Linked DNA regions of Homo sapiens: regions 1 and 3 are each linked to region 2. The links are contacts of gene promoters, found by promoter capture Hi-C in blood cells and fetal thymus (Javierre and others, 2016). All regions are on one chromosome and are shown on one strand. Each heading gives the region's core, a stretch centred on a gene start or on the middle of the fragment in contact. The rest is flanking DNA. Distances are from core to core; before and after follow the strand shown.

Region 1 (3,498 bases), core at 948-3,447, 780 kb before region 2:
TTTAACCTGGAATGAACAGTTGCCACTAGGTGGCGCCAGGCTGAAGCCAGCACGCAGACCCTGACTGGCAGGAATTTGGACAGCTCTTCTGGACTCCCATAACTCACAACCTGTTGTTCTTGTAGGCTCATCCAGGTCACTTAGTTAACCTCACCATAACCAAACACTACATTTAATGGTAGTGAAAAATTCTGGACTACACCTACTGTGTTCGGAAAGAATTTTACTGTATTTTATAAACTCAAATCAGAATGTGTCACTTCCCTGTTAAAACTCTTCCATGGCTTTCTTTGCTGTTAGGATAAAATCTCATCACTTGGACCCTAAGACATAATTTTAACCTTGAATACTTATGGAAACAGGCAGTTTGCATGAACGAATGATCCACCTGCTCATAAAACTATAGAATATGATGAGGCCTGTGGTATATGTATTTCCTGTTACAAGACATTCAAATTCAATTAAGAATGAAACAGAACAAATTATAAATATTTTAACAAGGGAAAGAAAAACTTTGTCTAGCACTCCACTCTGGCCAATTCTTTATGCTCCCTGCCCATATGGCAGTTTTATGATAATGTCAAGTTCCTTCTTACCTCAGCATTTTAGAACAGACCATTCCCTCTGCCTGGAATGCTTTCCTCTTCCTTTTTATTAGTTACCAATTTCTTGTCTTATAGACATTGGTCTAAAATCACTTCATCATGGAAGCCTATCCTTTTTGTACTCTTGCCCTGAATTAGATTCCATTTCGCTGTTATAGCACACTTACCCTCTTAGCCTTTGTTCAAAGTTATGATTACTTATGAAATATCTCTCTGTTCCTTTGCATTCATCCATCAAGTCACACATGCTGTAAATCTGTATTAAGCCTCTACTTTTCCAGGAACCTCCAATGTATTGTAAATTCATGGCAAGGTTCCCAGCATTGACTAGCTGGAAAGTGAATATGGAGGAAAGAGAAAAAAAGATTAGAAAATAACTTTTGAGTGGTAAGCCTGGAAAAATGATGAGACTATAGAGAATATAGGAAAATCAGGATGGAAGCAGGTTTCAGGACAGAAGGAAATATCTTTTTATTTTCAAATTGTGAGGAGACATTCAAAGTTTGTTGAATGTATAAGAGGCTGAGAAGCCATTTGCAAATTGTCTATAGAAGTGTGAGTATGAAGCTGTGAGACTACTTAGTGACTACAATCTCGAAGGCATGGAAAAGAATTTTTTAAAAAAGAAAGGATTGGCATATTTGAAGGGCAGTCTGGAAAAGTTAGCTCAAAAATGGAAATTTTCTTCTATATTTTGTATGAAATACAAGTTGGTTTTTTAAGCTTACTTTTAAAGGAAGTAGGTATATTTAGCTTCAGTAAACAAGGAAGGTTAGATGAAGTCCCTGATGTGCATCATTCCACTAGCAAGAGAATGGTGTAACACTTCTAAGGTGAAAAAAATGTAGCAAGGTTTAGTTCTTGGCTGAGCAATATTGTTCTGTAATTGTACAAGTTGGAGACTTAATTAGCCAATTAAATCCTGCTTCTCCATCCTTCCTCTTTCTAAATATACATTTTGAGCTCTCTTCTGATGTTGAAAAAACTCTCCTGTCTTTGAAACAAGTCCTGAAAATATTATTCAGTAGAAACCCATCTGCACAGTGATTGAGTCACAACAAATCCAGATTCCTGGAATCTGTGAGAAAGGCTTGTGCTCATCACGCCATCTCTCCCTTTTCATAGTTCTACGTTGAGGTCGTCCTGAGTTTGTTTTTAAGGTATTTTCTGCGCTGCTACACACTGTCATTTCACGTGAGGGCAGCAGAGAGGCAGCGTAGAAGCCCCTGAATAGCAAATCAGAAGAGCCCGAAGCTCAAATTTTGGGCGTAGTGTTTTCAGAACACCTCTTCAAAAATTAAATCACACGTTGTTTGTATCTCCTTAAACAATCCTAGTCTATTGATTTGCCTACTCTGTTCTTTTAAAAAAAGAATCAGACCTGTATCTAAAAATAGGTAAGAACATGTGAATACAGACTTTTGCAAGAGTTGTATCTGGTTTGCCCAGAATACGTTTTCTAATTTTTCTTCGGTCGTTACAATTTGACAACAGATTTGTTTAGTAATCACGTTATTATATTGTCCTATATACTTAAGAATTATTGTTTTGAGCGTAGTCCAAGCCCTGATGCCATTTTGAAACATACGGAAGCACATTTTGATTAAATGCAGTTTGAATAAAACACTGATGAAATAACAATAGCTTTTGTATCATATTTGTGAACGGTCTTTGGCTGTATCCTAGGTGGCAATAAAAAGGTAGTGAGTCAATTTGGATATTGTGAAAAAATTATTACTATTGAATTACAGCATAGAAAGTAACATATTCCCTAGGCTTCAGGCTCCCTGTCACTTAGCACTGCCTTTGTTCTCTCTGCCCAGAATGTTATTTTCCCTACCATCATCCCAGGCCACTTTCCAGCCACGCCCATCCTTTTGCAAGACTGACTTCTGTGGGTACTGCAGGTCTCAGGGTACAGGTGCCATCTCTGGGCAGCCTTCTCCACTGCTTCTCGATTTTCTTGGCCATTCTGTGCTTCTCCTGTTTACTCCTATGGTCCTCTGTAGGCTCCTATGGGAACTATGTCTTGTTCCTAATTTTGTCTCTAGTACTTAGTACTATGTGCTTAGTAGAAGCCCGTTAAAAAACAAACAATAAATACTTAGAATCTTTATCAAGATGGTGGGAGTGGGGAATAGGAGGAGCAGAGAACTATTCAAACTGTGAAAAAGAGGTTAAAAGAGGATTTGCCACCCTGCCTATTTTAGCGTAGGGGTAGGAGTTTAACATTTGAGGCAATAGCAAAGATGATGGACATCAGTGCTTCTCAGCAAACATTTGACAATCTCAGGTAAGACCAGATAGATCTTAGGTCTATAGCTAGTCAGCTAGTCAGTCATATGACTCAATACTGGTGACAGCTAGGGGCTTAAAGGAAATAAAAACACGTTTGTGAAAATGCTTTGTGTAGGGCTAAGCACAGAGAGGAGTGAGCATCGAATGTCTGCTGAAAAACAAAAGAAGCTTAGACTTTATCGTGATCTTAGCAAAATTCTTTTCCTATAGCTTTCTGGTCGTTAAGGTGACTCCCTCAAGGGCATCAGTCTGCACTGGAAATCATTGCAGTGTGGTAGAGAGAGGGAGAGGGAGCTCTTTATAGAGAGGACTCAGCTCGCCTTCGCCTTCTTAGCATCTTGTTGCTAGGCAATAGCTCCTCTGGTGGAAGCTCATCTCCATTTTTAAAGATGGAGTGAAGTCTTGCCGAGGGAAATGCAGTTTGTACAAACTGGGCCATGTGCAAACAGTATTTTGCTCTAGTCCTGAAAACTGCTTTTCCCTATAAGGGAGACAAATCAGTCCTACTTAAATCCTGTCACTTAACAACCAGATAATATAACTCCTCTCTTTCTCTCTCTTTTCTGTAAAGCATAGACTTCCTTTTTAATCTTAT
Region 2 (3,692 bases), core at 348-2,847:
AACAATGGAATTGTTATTATTATCAGAAACTTCTACGTAAAAATGTTGGTTAAAGCAATATATAAAGATTGATTCTCGGTACAAATTGCTTGGAAAGTTTAACATGTGCACTAGATTTCAGATATTAAAAGTTAAATTAAAAAAAAGAATCTAATGGCAGCGTGTGACTTTAACCTCATGGATTTTAGCCACAAACGCAAAGAAAAATATATACAATAAAAGAAGCAACAGATTTTCCCACAAGCAGAGATTTTCTAATTAAAATGCTGTCACTTTAATATTTTTTAGCTATAGAATTTGACTGTAAATGTCTTCATTATGTAGTGTAACTTCTATAGCAAGTTATGTTAACGTTTTCAAGAATCGGAAATATTGGTAACTCGATGGGGTTCTTAAAACAGAAATAGTTTCTTTGATGAGTTGGAAAGAGAAGGAAATAAAAGTCTAAGGTAAGCGCCAGTTTCACCCTCAATTCTTAGGCTTCAGAAAAGCCTAATTAGGCAGGGAAAGGAATCTGGGCCTGGCACACCCAAGCTTAGACGTGGCAGGATCCTGAAACAATGTTTTTTTGAACCTTTGAGTCATATGCCACAGGCAAACCATAGCCGCGATATGCAGGTCCTTAAGTCAACAGGTCCTCTAACGAGATGGTGAGTGGTTGGTGCGTGGCAGTTGGATTTCTTCCCGCCACGGAAGAAAAGAACTCTTCTCCATTGATCAGGAAAGTGGGCCCAACTCTGGCCTGGAGAGCGCACCCGGAAAAGTGCAGAGTCGAAACAGAGAGAGAGGGGTGTCCGCGTCCCGGCCACAGAGCCCTTTCCAAACCACTCGGAAACCATTTAAATGGCTCGGCGGCCGCGGTTTGCAGCCTAGAACTGTTTGGGGTCCCCGGCTAGGAAAGTTGCCTGGCAAAGCCATGTCTTTCGCTGTCGCGGGATGTCCTCTCGGGCAGAGAGGCTGGAGGAGACAGGCAACCTGCTAGCCGGAGTGGAAGCGCGCCCGCCTCCCGCCGGGCCCTCCCTCTCAGGGTCCCCACGCTGCGACCCTCCCAAGGGCAAGTCCGGGGCCACCAGGTCTTTGGTCTCCGTCCAGCTCCTCAGGGGCCGCCCCATAGGGACTGGCGGGGGCACCGTGGGCGAGAGGGTGTGACCGGGCTCCCCCCCGAGGCGCCACCTGCCCCTTGGCCCAGGGCGCCCCTTTCGGGATCTCTCCAGGGGCAACCGACACACTGCTCTCGAGACCGTCTCCAACCGGCCACCTGGACCGTAGCCCTGTCCCCAACACGTGAACCCCTGCGGCCGTCCTCCCGCCTGCTCTAACGCAGCCCAGGGGTACCGCGTCTCCCTCCGCCTGCCGCCGGCTTACCTGGCGGGTGGGCAGGGCAGGGTGGCGGGAAGCGGCGGCCGGGCAGGCGCTGGACGTGGGCTAGGCGCCAGGTGCAGGTGGCGGCGGCTGCGACTCCGGTTGCTGTCGCCACAGTTGCGGCTCAGTAGAGCTCCTCCTCCGCCGCCGCCTCCTGCCTTCCCGCTGGGCCTCCCGCGTTGCCTGGAGAGGCAGAACCGAGGCTCGGCTTCCACTTGGAGTCTCCCAGGTGAGCTCCAGCCTGCGACGTCGGCAGGGGCGAGGCCCCACTTCCGCGCCTGCGCGCCAGCCTCCCGCCCCGCCCCAGCCCTACCTGAGCGCTCCAGGTGAGAACCTTGGATCGCGCGCGCAGGGTGGGGGCGCCGTCCGGGCCAAGCCTGGCTGTCGCGCGGCTTCTCTCTGAGTGGTCGGCGAGGCTGCTGCTCCGCGCAAGTTGTGGCTCCCGGCCCATCTACATTGGAGGAATCCTGCACTGACCTGGTGGCAGTGATCACCTTGTAGCCAGAACACAGTCTGCTGGGTCCTTGGGGAACCAGAAGTTCTAGATTTCCCCCACACGGTTCCTCCCTTCCTCCTCGGTTCGCCAAAATGAAGGGGTGCGCTGCCTCCGAGGACCACTTCGGGAGGGCAGCAACTGCTGGCTCATGTGGTTTCTTCGGGCAGGGTTCAGCAGCTTCTGTCACCAGTTAGGTTTCGTGAGCTTCCTTCCCGTGTAGTCTTGATTTCATCACTTGACTCACTTCAGCGCAGCTAGTGGTTTCCGTTTCTGTACGCGGGCGCTCTGGTAGGGGCGCCTCACGTCCAAAGGAGGAGTCTTCTTCCAAAGAAGAGCCTTTGGTATTTGGCAGAGCCTCGCCAATTTGGGGCGCACCTCCCCTTCCTGGGATGCTCTCAGAAGGCAAACCAATTCCCAGAAGAGAGGGAAAAACAGCCACAACAGAGAGAACCTTTGCTGTCCCTGTTTGGAAAGAGATTGGGATTTCCTGGAGAGGGCTTGCTTCTACTGCAGGTTTGTTTAAAAGCTCAACATCTATTCTGGAAGAGAACAACGCAGACTCCAGGAAGATGGTGGGTTTTGCTGTTTTTAAGACAAAAAAAAATTGTTAAACAGTATTTGTTCCATTTATGACACAACTTTCTGTTTCAGCCTTCCTTCTGCTGCTGCAACAAACATTGACACACCCAAAACCAGGACTTAAAATGGCCTTTATACCTTTCTATGAACTCATTTCTTTGGCCCTATCCCAAAGATATCTAGGGATATAAATAGAAAACTAGCTAAAAACTTTTTGGTGTCGTGTTTAATCACATGGTGGTAGGTTTTACTATGAAGTTTAGTTGTGGCCTTCCTCCTACATTTTGACATGCTCTTATGGTGCTTATTCACTGTTTTATTAGTGCTATGCGTGACCTAAAAATAAGGTTTAAAATACAGTTTAGTATAGTATCAACAAGTGTATCTTTAGTATTTGACTACTCTAAGACATTGGTTTTAGCATCCATAGTGCTATTTTATACTAGGACATCTATGAGTTAGGGTTTAAGACTTTAGTAAACTAGGTAGTTCTTTGCTTGTTTTACATGTCATGGTTATTTTGCGAGCACCAAGGAACCTCCATGTATTTGCAACATTTTAATATCAGTACCTACAAGCAATTGCCAAGCTCCCTTTCCCTCCAAAAACAAACAAACAAAAAAATAGTTCAGGAGATACTTGTGTGTATTGATATACTAACTTGGCAGTGTTTTTCCTTAGGTCCAGGTCCAGAACTGAAAATACTAACTACTGAAATTCTCTTCTCCTTCTCCTTCTTCTTCGTTGTGCCACTTTGTCGTTTACCCCTAACCAGAGGTTAATGTTAGTCTTTGGAAAATTTGTAAGGTATCCTAAATGTATAACCAAGAAACCTGTACCCTTTTGCACGCACCACCCATCTCTGAATGAAGAGCCAAAGATTGTCAGAGTTTTGATGTCCCACCAGGCGAAGAGCAACACTTTTCACTGACAATCAGGACAGAGCAGATGGATATAGAATAACAATCTGGAATCCAAGGACTGAGATGCATTGACAGCAAGACTAGTAACGTCAAATAACAACTGAAAAGAGAAGCTAGGGTAGACCTATTAAAAGAGAGAGCCAGCAAACAGGACCAAAATGCTGGATGAGGAGTCTAAAAAGAACAGAAGAAACAAAAAAGATCAGGAGTTACTAAAATTTGACTGTCAGTTTTACAATGGAGACAGACAATTTAAAGAAGGAAGCAGTTTTTCTGAGTGTGGCATTACTTGTGCACGTTGAGTGTCATATATATAGAGAGAGAGAAAGAGA
Region 3 (3,733 bases), core at 528-3,027, 960 kb before region 2:
TGATATATACTACAACATGTATGACATTATGTGAAATAAGCCAGTCAAAAAAAGACAGACTTTGATCTCACTTGTAAGAGGTACCTAGAGTAGTCAAAATCAGAGACAAAGTAGAATGGTGGTTTTCAGGGGCTGGAGAAAGTGGAATGGGGAAGTTATTGTTTAATGGGTATAGGGTTTCAGTTTTGCCAGATGGAAGGAGTTATAATGATGGAAGGTGGTGATGGTTCAACAATATGAATGTGCTTAACACCACTGAACCATGCAGTTAAAAATGGCTAAGATGGTAAATTTTATGCTATGCATATTTTACCACAATGGAGAAAAAGGGGGATAAAAAAGCAGGTAGAGGGCTGTTTTGACTTTCAGGACATAGTTTGCTGACCCATAAGTTAGGCTGTTGCATTTTAAATTCTAAGCATAGACATAATGTTTTAAGCCAGTAACAAAGTACCATTTATACACTAACATCATGTTCATTTTATTCCTACAGATACATATAATTTCTGTAGTGAAGTTCTTAAGATTAGAAGCCTATTTCCCAGTACCTAGAAAAATATGTTTTATATAAAGTAAGAGTTCAGGAGTTTTTGACTGATTAATTAAAAGTAGTTGTCTTAATAACATGAAGTTTGGCATTTATTATTATATTAACACATCTGGCGTTTCAGTACAAATATAAGGTCATAATATTGTTATTCAATATCCTCTAACTCATGTAGAGGTAATTGATTTTGAAGGGCAAGTATAGCATTTTTAATAAATAATTTCATTTTTGTTATTCAGTAATCAAAAATCCTACTTTTGAAATATTGTTATACATTTAATAGCTGCCTAATATCAAAAAATAAGTATAGACTTTGTCATATGATGAAAAAAACTGCCAGTTTACTATGAGTTAAATTACATCATACCATACACAGGAATATGTTACACATTACTTTGAAGACATAAGCCAAATAATTAATCTCCTTTTAAATGCTAGACATTTTATATGCATTGAAATTTATAGTTTTTAAATATAAAATGTAAACATAATTTTAAAAAGAATCAAGATAATGCTTTTATAAGGCCACTTTAAATAAAAATCATTTTTAGCCATTCAGTATAATCCATGGTAGCAAACATAGCACTATGAAAAGCATAGGTTTGGAATCAGAGCTTGTTTCTAATACTCTTCCATTCCTTAGAGTTGTATGACCTTCAATGTGTTAATTAAGCTCTCTGATCCTCAGTTTCATTCATTGTAAAATGAAGTTAATATACTTATTCAAAAAGAAGTAGCAAAAGCTTTAAAAATAATATTGCAAAGCAGCTACATGGAATCTTTCAAAAGGCAAAATAATGCTAAAGTTACAATCTTGAGTTCCCTATAAATGATTAGTAACAGCCTCTATTCTCTTTTTTGCATCAGCTCCATGTCAGCTATTGATATCTACTTAATCAATGATTCTCAAATCTGGTCACACACTACAATCACCTGAGCAGCATTTTAAAACTAGCCATCCCCTGGTCCCAGACCAAGAGAATTAAAATCAGAATGGGTGGGGGCATGAGAGCCCAAGAATTCGTGTGAAAGTATCCCAGATGACTCCCATGTTGAAACCTCAGAGAAGTCACTCAACTTCAAGTATTCAAGAACTCAGTTCATACAATCAGTGAAACTTTAGAACCAATAACACTCCTCAACAAAAGCTTAAGAAAGCAGCTGTTAAATCATTCTTTAATTTTTCGTATGCCTTCAATTAACTCCATAGCTCCAAAGCTGCAAAATGATAAAGAGAGCTTTTGTCCCCTCTGTACATTCCTGAAAATGTGCTTCAGAATCAAAATATTAAGATCCCTCAGAGCAAGGTCAATTAAGCTTTTGACATTTAAATTTCGAAGGATTTTTTTTTTTAAAGCATATCTGGGCAAGTAAAGAACATAAGCACTAGTTCCAAAGATAAGCACCCAAGTTGATGTCAGCAATCATGTTGCTTTTTCTAAGTGATTAATGTCACTTTACTAAGTACTAATATAGAAAACTTAAATAAATTTACTAATTGGATATCCACGTTAGAGAAGGAAATTACTTTTGACTATCGCTCTCTTCTCCAATGCAGCATTTCAATTTTCCAACCAGTGTCTCCAACATTTTTGCTCTCTGCAAAAAAAAAACGCAAACCAACCTAGGATTTCCACTTCATAGAAACAAATATAAAAATGATTTATCATTTTTCATCTAGATCACTATGTAAGTTAAACCAGTCAACTTTCACATACATATGAAAACATATATACATGAATTAGATAGGAGTATATATGTATGTATATGTATAGTATACATAAAATATGTAATTATATATGAATGTACATATTACATTTGAATATATATAAAGTTGCATGCAATCTTTTTTCTCGAAGGAAAACCGAAACTGTTGTGACTCAATGTCTTTTGATATCTAAACTCTTAACCTCATAACGAATTCCAAAAAGAAGCCCATAAGATACAGAACAACAAATATAAAGTGGATACTTCTGCATGTTACTAAGAAAGTGATCTAAAGCCAGGCACAGTGGCTTGTGACTGTAGTCTCGGCCATGCAGGAGGCTGAGGTGGGAGGATCACTTGGGCCCAAGAGGTCAAGGTCAGCCTGGGCAACATAGCAAGACTCCAGCCTGTCTCAAAAGAAAGGGATCTAATCTAGAATGGTAAGGGATTAAAGCAGTACAGTAGAGGCCAAAATGAAAGACATTCAAGATGACCACAGGATCAGACCCTTTTAAGGCAGGGACTTCACCAGCACAGACCCTACGGCAGCCACTATTTCTGCACACCATTGCTTCCACTGAAAAGAAAATGACACCCAACCCATATAATTCACAATGTCGTAGAATGCTAAATGCGAGTTAAATGTGTGAAGGCACCAAACAAACTTCAAACTATCCCTTTTGATGTTACAATTATTATTTAGAATGTTTCAAAGAAAAAGCAGCAGCTGAGAGGCCATAAAACAATTTTATTTTCCTAAAATACTCATTCCCTGAATGGGCTAATTTATCATAGAATTAATAAAAGTGAAGATAAGGATATCAACTACATTTTTCCTGAAATGTATTAAAATATTACAGAGTTAATGGTTAAATATAAGTTATCCGTTAAAATGTATAACGTCATGGTATGTTATATCATACCATGGTCAAGAAAAGATAAAAAGCAATTAACAAAATGAACTAGGCACTTGGAGTTTTTCTTCTGGTTTTACTACTAATTTGCTGGGACTTCAACACACTCAGTGTTTCTGAGCTTCAGATTCTCATTTATAAAATGTGGAGAACAAAACTTGGTGCTATGTTAAAATGACATGTTACAACAATGTAAAACTTGGAAAATTACAGAGGAATTCTTTCCAACAGTAATATCCAAGGATAAAGACTAAACTAGGCTTCATTGTCTATTAAAGTAATGAGTTATGATATAATTAGTCAGTTTTATAGCAAGAAATTTATCTCCAAAACCTAACAATTATAACATATTAAGATTTCTGCCTGCCACTTCCCAAATACCCTTATCTAGATATTTTTCCCCCAGTTTAAACCTTTTATAATTTGGGTTTTTGAGAGAGAAGAGAAGCAATACTGAATATTAAATATTCAACAAATCTTATATGACAGGCATTCGGAATATGCCAAAGGACAAGTTAGACAAGTGAAATAAGACAAATGAAGTAGAGAGGTAATTTTTTCATGT

Evidence for each region. The method cuts DNA at HindIII sites, captures the fragments that hold promoters and counts their contacts. A CHiCAGO score of 5 or more calls a contact.
Region 1: a contact is called between a fragment that was not itself captured here and the fragment with the promoter of GALNT3 in region 2, in 4 of 17 cell types (total B cells, naive B cells, neutrophils and 1 more). The highest score is 14.2, in total B cells.
Region 3: a fragment that was not itself captured here is called in contact with the fragment with the promoter of GALNT3 in region 2 in 1 of 17 cell types (naive B cells); the score reaches 5.1 in naive B cells.

Annotation. Positions count from the first base shown.
Region 1 is chr2:165,015,196-165,018,693 of GRCh38, forward strand. No RefSeq gene overlaps it. Among named protein-coding and RNA genes, the nearest start is that of SLC38A11, 61 kb to the left of the region's middle. The HindIII fragment of the contact is 1,743 bases long and covers 1,327-3,069 here.
Region 2 is chr2:165,792,650-165,796,341 of GRCh38, forward strand. It overlaps GALNT3 (polypeptide N-acetylgalactosaminyltransferase 3), which reads right to left and starts at 1,598. Exons shown (of 11, transcript NM_004482.4): 1 at 1,366-1,598. It overlaps LOC124906086, which reads left to right and starts at 937. Exons shown (of 6, transcript XM_047446887.1): 1 at 937-1,143; 2 at 1,270-1,688; 3 at 2,151-2,430. The coding sequence starts at 937. RefSeq lists enhancers at 348-1,254, 1,255-2,160 and silencers at 1,231-1,320, 1,391-1,540. The HindIII fragment of the contact is 5,078 bases long and covers 533-3,692 here.
Region 3 is chr2:164,835,353-164,839,085 of GRCh38, forward strand. All of the region lies in intron 2 of COBLL1 (cordon-bleu WH2 repeat protein like 1), which reads right to left. Among named protein-coding and RNA genes, the nearest start is that of COBLL1, 4.6 kb to the right of the region's middle. The HindIII fragment of the contact is 169 bases long and covers 1,694-1,862 here.